Linked DNA regions of Homo sapiens: region 1 is linked to region 2. The links are contacts of gene promoters, found by promoter capture Hi-C in blood cells and fetal thymus (Javierre and others, 2016). All regions are on one chromosome and are shown on one strand. Each heading gives the region's core, a stretch centred on a gene start or on the middle of the fragment in contact. The rest is flanking DNA. Distances are from core to core; before and after follow the strand shown. Region 1 overlaps IFT74 (intraflagellar transport 74). Region 2 holds the start of IFNK (interferon kappa).

Region 1 (3,580 bases), core at 628-3,127, 540 kb before region 2:
ATAATTTAAGATTGTTAGTCTCTACAAGTATACTTCAAAGCCTTTTAAGAGAGAATTCGGAACATTACCACTACACAGAACTGTCTACTGTGACTTTCATTCTTACCTTCTCTAGTGCCCCATTTCCCAGTATAATAAGATACTACCTCTACTTCTCAGCATAGACCTTATAGTTAATACACCTAGTTTTACCTCTCATACTTTGCAGGGCACTTCATCTCTTACAAGGTTTGAGACATTTAACCTAGGAACACTTTCTTTTTTTTTTTTTTTTTTTTTTTTTTTGAGATGGGGTCTTTCTCTGTCGCCCAGGCTGGAGTGCAGTGATGTGATCTTGGCTCACTGCAACCTCCGCATCCCAGATTCAAGCAATTCTCCTGCCTCAGCCTCCTGAGTAGCTGGGCTTACAGGCACATGCCACAATGCCCAGCTAATTTTTTTGTATTTTTAGTAGAGATGGGGTTTCACCATATTGGCCAGGCTGGTCTTGAACTTCTGACCTCAAGGGATCCTCCCACCTCAGCCTCCCAAAGTGCTGGGATTACAGGTGTGAGCCACCGTGCCCGGCCAGGAATACTTTCTTAGTTCTACTGAAATGTAAGACCATTTCTTAAAAAGTCTCTGAGACAAATGATAAAAAATCATAGTCACTTTCTCACATTGAGTAATGTCTGCAGTGTCCAGTATGACAGCCAGTAGTCAGAAATTTAAATTAGTTCCCCAGTAGCACCAGCCAAATTTTAAGTGCTTCTGTAGTCCCTCTGTCCACTTTATTGGACAGTGTTAATTTAGAATATTTCTGTCACTGCAGAAAGTTACTCTGGACAGCTCTGTTCCAGATTCCCTTAGACTCAATTTTCATTCCATCGTCCTGTTCTGTAGAGTCTACTGTCTTTTAACAGCCCCACCTCTAGTCCCATCTTCGTAGTTTTAATTGAAGCTTCCCTTATGTTGTGATTCTAAGGTATTAGTTCTCTTTTCAGTTTCAGTGATTCTTCTTGATTCATTGGGGCATTCATGAAGACTGTCTTGAGAATTGTGGAGTGTAATTCTGATTGTGCTTTGGATTTGCTATTCTGGTGGCATTTCGAACTGAACACTAACACTTAAAACATTTTTTTTTAGGTCCCCAGAGGCAAATTTTAGACAAATCTTACTATCTTGGGCTTCTTAGGTATGTTAAACATATCTTTTCATCCGTATGTTTTACTCGAAATATTGTGTACCTTCTGTCAAAATAGAGTATATAACTTTAATATGAAGTTTTAGCTAGGCACTTATTAGGATAATTAGGTATCTATTGATTTCTAAAAATTATTTTGTATTCTAACAATTTCTGGTTAATTTGGCTATGCTGTAAAATAAATGTGATAGTATAATTAGTCTGAGATTTATAGTTTTATGAATTTGCATGTACATGAGCTATATTTTCCCTCAGTTTGTTTGTGCTGCTATAATAAAATACCTGAGATTGGGTAACTTATAGGAATTTATTTCTTACTGTTCCGGAGACGCAGAAGTCCAAGATCAAGGTGCCAGCAGCTTCAGTGTCTGGTGGGCACCTGTTTCTCACAGATAGTGCCGTCAAGGTGTCCTCATGGCAGAAGAGTGGAAGGGCAAAAGGTGCTGAGCTAGTTTCCTTCAACCCTTTTCTAAGGCACTAATCCCATCCATGAGGGCAGAGTCGTCATGTCCTGATTACTTCTTAAAGTCCCTACCTCTTAATACTATTGCATTAGAGATTAAGTTTTGATATGAATTTCAGAGGGACTCAAACATTCAAACCATAGCAAACTTATTTTATTTTATTTATATTTTAGAGACAGAGTCTCACTCTGTTGCCCAGGCTGGAGTGCAGTGGCATGATCACAGCTCACTGCAACCTTGAACTCCTGGGTTGAAGTGATCCTCCTGCCTCAGCTTCCCAAAGTGCTGGGATTATAGGCATAAGCTACCACCACACCTGGCCTCATAGCATTTTTTTTTTGAGACAGAGTCTTGTTCTGTGGCTCAGGCTGGAGTGCAGTGGCATGATCTCGGTTGACTGCAACCTCTGTCTCCCAGGTTTAAGCAATTCTCCTGCATCAGCTTCCCAAGTAGCTGGGATTACAGGCGTTTGCCACCACACCCACCTAATTTTGTGTGTGTGTTTTTAGTAGAGGTGGCATTTCACCATGTCAGCCAGGCTTGTCTCGAACTCCTGACCTCAAATGATCTGCCCATCTCGGCCTTCCAAAGTGCTGGGATTACAGGCATGAGCCACCGCGCCCAACCCCTTGTAGCATTTTAAAAGTTCACTTTTTTCATCTAATGATAAGAATAATTTTTTTTTTTTTTTTTGAGATAGAGTCTCACTCTGTCGCCCAGGCTGGAGTGCAGTGGTGTGATCTCAGCTCACTGCAACCCCTGCCTTCCGGGTTTAAGCTATTCTCCTGCCTCAGCCTCGTGAGTAGCTGGGACTGCAGGTATGCGCCACCATGCCTGGCTAATTTTTGTATTTTTTAGTAGAGGTGGGCTTTCACCATATTGGCCAGGCTGGTCTTAAACTCCTGACCTCAGGTGATGCACCTGCCTCAGCCTCCCAAAGTGCTGAAATTATAGGCTGAGCCACCGCACCTGGCCAAGAATAATCTTCTATGTTTTTTTTCAGTAATTAATCTGAAACGTGTTACTCATATCATTAAAATGTTACCAGCTACATCTAATAAGAAAGGGAAAATATGTATACTTATTTATGTTATATTAATCAGTAAGTTTTACATAAGTATGTATTTGGTCAGTTGCTACCAATGTGGCCTAATTTTAATTAATTCATAAGCTTTTTTTCTTTTTTTTTTGAGACGGAGTTTTGCTTGTCACCCAAGCTGGAGTGCAATGATGGGATCTCACGTCACTGCAACTTCCACCGCCTGGATTCAAGTGATTCTCTTGCCTCAGCCTCGTGCCTGTAATCTGCAAGTAGCTGGGATTACGGGTGCCTGCCACCACACTTGGCTAATTTTTGTATTTTTTTTTTTTTTTTTTTTTTGAGACAGAGTTTTGCTCTTGTTGCCCAGGCTGGAGTGCAATGGCCTGATCTCTGGCACCGCAACCTCCGCCTCCCGGGTTCAAGTGATTCTCCTGCCTCAGCCTCCCGAGTAGCTGGGATTACAGGTGTGCACCACCATGCCCAGCTAATTTTGTATTTTTAGTTCAGACGAGGTTTCTCAATGTTGGTCAGGCTGGTCTCGAACTCCCAACCTCAGGTGATCTGCCCACCTTGGCCTCTTAGAGTGCTGGGATTACAGGTGTGAGCCACTGCACCTGGCCTAATTTTTGTATTTTTAGTAGAGATGGGGGTTTCACCATTTTGGCCAGGCTAGTCTTGAACTCCTGACCTCAGGTAATGCACCTGCCTATGCCTTTCAAAGTGCTGGGATTACAGGCGTGAGCTGCCGCACTCGGCCTCATAAACTTTTGTTATATGTCTCTGGGGATGCATCTCTAAATCAATGACTTTTTCTTATTCTTACTATTTTCCCACTTACTTGTTCTACTGTCCTATCTCCATCTTCCCATTTTACTTCATTTTCTTTTTGGC
Region 2 (3,583 bases), core at 844-3,343:
GCGCCACTGCACTCCAGCCTGGAGACAGAGCAAGACCCCGTCTCACAAAAAAAAAAAAAAAAAAAAAAAAGAAAAGAAAGAAAGAAAGAAAAAGAAATACTTGCTCACCACAGAAAACTTAAAAAATCCAGGTAAATAAAAATATAAAAATAAAAACCACCCATTATTCTTCCAGTTAGAGATAGTGACTCAAAATTTTTGCATATATATCAAGACATTTTTTCATATATATATATATATATATATATATGCATATGTCTATATTTAACAAAAGTGGTATCAGCCTCTATATGCAAATATAAGCTTGTTTTTTAAACTACAAAGTGTATCTATCCAAGTGACCAAATATATTCCCACACATAATTTTTAGTGCTTACATATATGTTTTCTACTGATGGCTTACTTAACTAAGTATTTATTGCTGAACATTAAAATTGTTTTCCATTTTTTGCTGTGACAAACTTCCTTACAGCTAAGTCTTTAAGGGCATCATCATTATTTCTGGGGAATCAGTTCCTAGAGGATCAATCGCTGAGTCAAATATTATGTACATTTTTAAGGCTTTTGATCCATATCACCACTTTCCTCTCTAGGAAGGTTGTGTCAATTTATAACGCTATATAAAAGGGCTTGTTTTCTTAATGTTTTCCAAATTTGGTCAGCCCAAGAAATCTGCCCATGAAATAAGAATTTATGTAGATGGAACAAATAGAATAATATATATATATATATTTTTTTCCGTAAGAAACCTTTCCTAAAAGCCAGGATTTTAAGAAATCCCACTTACCCACAATTAGCCTTTGGTGCAGTCAACTGATTTAGACAAGAACTTTTTAAGCCAACTTTTCAATCAAAGTCTGCCATGTTTGTGGAACTGTGGCTATTTACCATTTTACAATGACTTAATTGCAAATTAATGTATATCTTTTTTTTCTTGAGAAGATATAATAAGCTACCTTTTTAAAATGACAATCCATTTTATTTTCCTGGAGAAAAGAATCCATTTGCTTTAACCATAATCAGAGGAAGGTTATTTGGTCAAACAAAGTAAAAACCATAAACAATAGATAGCCATCATTACCACAGTAACATTGGTCCAGCTAGGAATTCACTTAGCTAAATGGGTGACTTCCTACTCACATACCTCCTCAGTGCACAACAAACACAGGAGCAAACAAAAGCCTTTACAGAATCCAGAACCACCAGGCAAGAAGATATAATAATCAAGCAATCAAGCAAAAGTTTAAAAATACTGCCTAAACTGCACCAAAAAAAAAAAAGAAAAGAAAAGAAAAGAAAATGATACTACAAGAGAGAAGTTAATGAGGCAGAAAGATATTCTCAAATATAAAACCCCCTCCAGGACTTTTAAGAAAGGTATCAGAGGCATATGGAAGGCTAAGTCCAGGATGGATTTAACTGAAGAAAAGGATATTTAGAGATTATCAACATTTTCTAATGCAACAGAAAACCAAGCCAACTTAGTCTCCTACTTAGTAAGTGCCAGCTCTATTCTTCATCTTTTTGGAGATCCAGAAAAATCAAAAAGAGAAAATATCCAAATATAGAAGCTTAATTTAACAAAATTGGAAAAACCTAAACTATACTGTGCTCTGGTGACCTAGCAATCAAATAATCACAGTCATTTGGTCAATGTCTATGATTAACTCAATGAGACAGGATGTTTGGCTATAGCACCAGGTACAAAAAATATATTTTCATGAAGGATCACTCCCTCTTATGTAATAGATTTGGGTGAGTGAGTGAGTGAGTGAGTGCATGGACTCACAGCTTTTGGCTTTCTGAAATACCCTGCATCAGTCTTGTTATGATGATTCCTTAGTGCTGGGATGGATCATCCAGGCATTTAAGGTAACACGATGGTAATTCTTTGCTCATTTTTCAGGGAAAAAAAAAAGTTATCACTTCCAAAGTCGGCATAGTCACCCGAAGTAAAAAAAAAAAAAAAAAAAAAGCCTCAGAGGCAAAGGAAAGGGGCCGCAACCTTGGTTAACTGTGAAATGACGAATGAGAAAACTCCTCCTGCTGAAGATATTCAGGTATATAAAGGCACATGAAGGAAAACTCAAAACATCATTGTCATATACACATCTTCTGGATTTTTTAGCTTGCAAAAAAAATGAGCACCAAACCTGATATGATTCAAAAGTGTTTGTGGCTTGAGATCCTTATGGGTATATTCATTGCTGGCACCCTATCCCTGGACTGTAACTTACTGAACGTTCACCTGAGAAGAGTCACCTGGCAAAATCTGAGACATCTGAGTAGTATGAGCAATTCATTTCCTGTAGAATGTCTACGAGAAAACATAGCTTTTGAGTTGCCCCAAGAGTTTCTGCAATACACCCAACCTATGAAGAGGGACATCAAGAAGGCCTTCTATGAAATGTCCCTACAGGCCTTCAACATCTTCAGCCAACACACCTTCAAATATTGGAAAGAGAGACACCTCAAACAAATCCAAATAGGACTTGATCAGCAAGCAGAGTACCTGAACCAATGCTTGGAGGAAGACAAGAATGAAAATGAAGACATGAAAGAAATGAAAGAGAATGAGATGAAACCCTCAGAAGCCAGGGTCCCCCAGCTGAGCAGCCTGGAACTGAGGAGATATTTCCACAGGATAGACAATTTCCTGAAAGAAAAGAAATACAGTGACTGTGCCTGGGAGATTGTCCGAGTGGAAATCAGAAGATGTTTGTATTACTTTTACAAATTTACAGCTCTATTCAGGAGGAAATAAGGTATATTTTTGGAATTAAAATTCCTTTTCCCTCCGAAATCTCTTTCTCCTTCTCCTCCTCCAACTTCTTTTTAAGGATTGTTGTGCTGTCCTGTAAGCCTGTCCTCAGTTGGACTGGTAGCCTCGGAACATCAGGGACACTCACCTCTCTAAGGAGAGGTAATGCCAACCATCCTCAGGGTGACCAAGAGTCTCCTTAGAAAGTCTTTAAGACATTTTTAAAGGAATAAGATTCCCTCTCCGTCTTCTTCTATTCTCTCTTGCTCTTTTCTGTGGCCATTTTGAAAGAGCTTTGCTATATATACCACCTGTGGACTTCACCAAGACAATGGCTAGAGGATAGGGAGCAGAGAATGTTGCAAAATGGTAACATTTCAATGACTTAACTGTTTTGCTGCCAAGGTTGCTTATCCTATGAAAATTCAGCACATTAAAAGAGCTTATACATGCTCCCTAGAGTCAATACTCTTGCATTTTCCCCCTCCTGCTCGGGGGGAAAAAGGTTGACATTTCTGGCCCATTTCCTTCTCAGCTTGGTTTGTTTGAATTGATGCTTGTGGAATAGTATTTCATTACTTTAAGAGTGAAGATCCATAGTGAAATTGGATGGATGGTTGAATTAGACGACCATTAAGCTTTCATTTAACCTTTGAGAGTCTGTGATTCTAATGTAGCACACTCTTCATTCCTGATGTATATTGTTTGATTCCTACATCTAAAGGCATGGAAAATGCTGTGGAAAAGTATGGTACAGAATCTGTCTTTTACTGTTTTTCATGTGCCTGAAATAAAATGTCCAGAGTCATAATATGGAACAAT

The links. The method cuts DNA at HindIII sites, captures the fragments that hold promoters and counts their contacts. A CHiCAGO score of 5 or more calls a contact.
Region 1: a fragment that was not itself captured here is called in contact with the fragment with the promoter of IFNK in region 2 in 1 of 17 cell types (activated CD4 T cells); the score reaches 5.1 in activated CD4 T cells.

The regions. Positions count from the first base shown.
Region 1 is chr9:26,979,446-26,983,025 of GRCh38, forward strand. It overlaps IFT74 (intraflagellar transport 74), which reads left to right. Exons shown (of 20, transcript NM_025103.4): 4 at 1,126-1,174. Among named protein-coding and RNA genes, the nearest start is that of LRRC19, 24 kb to the right of the region's middle. The HindIII fragment of the contact is 1,878 bases long and covers 939-2,816 here.
Region 2 is chr9:27,522,197-27,525,779 of GRCh38, forward strand. IFNK (interferon kappa) reads left to right here and starts at 2,094. Exons shown (of 2, transcript NM_020124.3): 1 at 2,094-2,765. The coding sequence starts at 2,141. The coding sequence ends at 2,764. All of the region lies in intron 1 of MOB3B (MOB kinase activator 3B), which reads right to left. The HindIII fragment of the contact is 1,828 bases long and covers 1,570-3,397 here.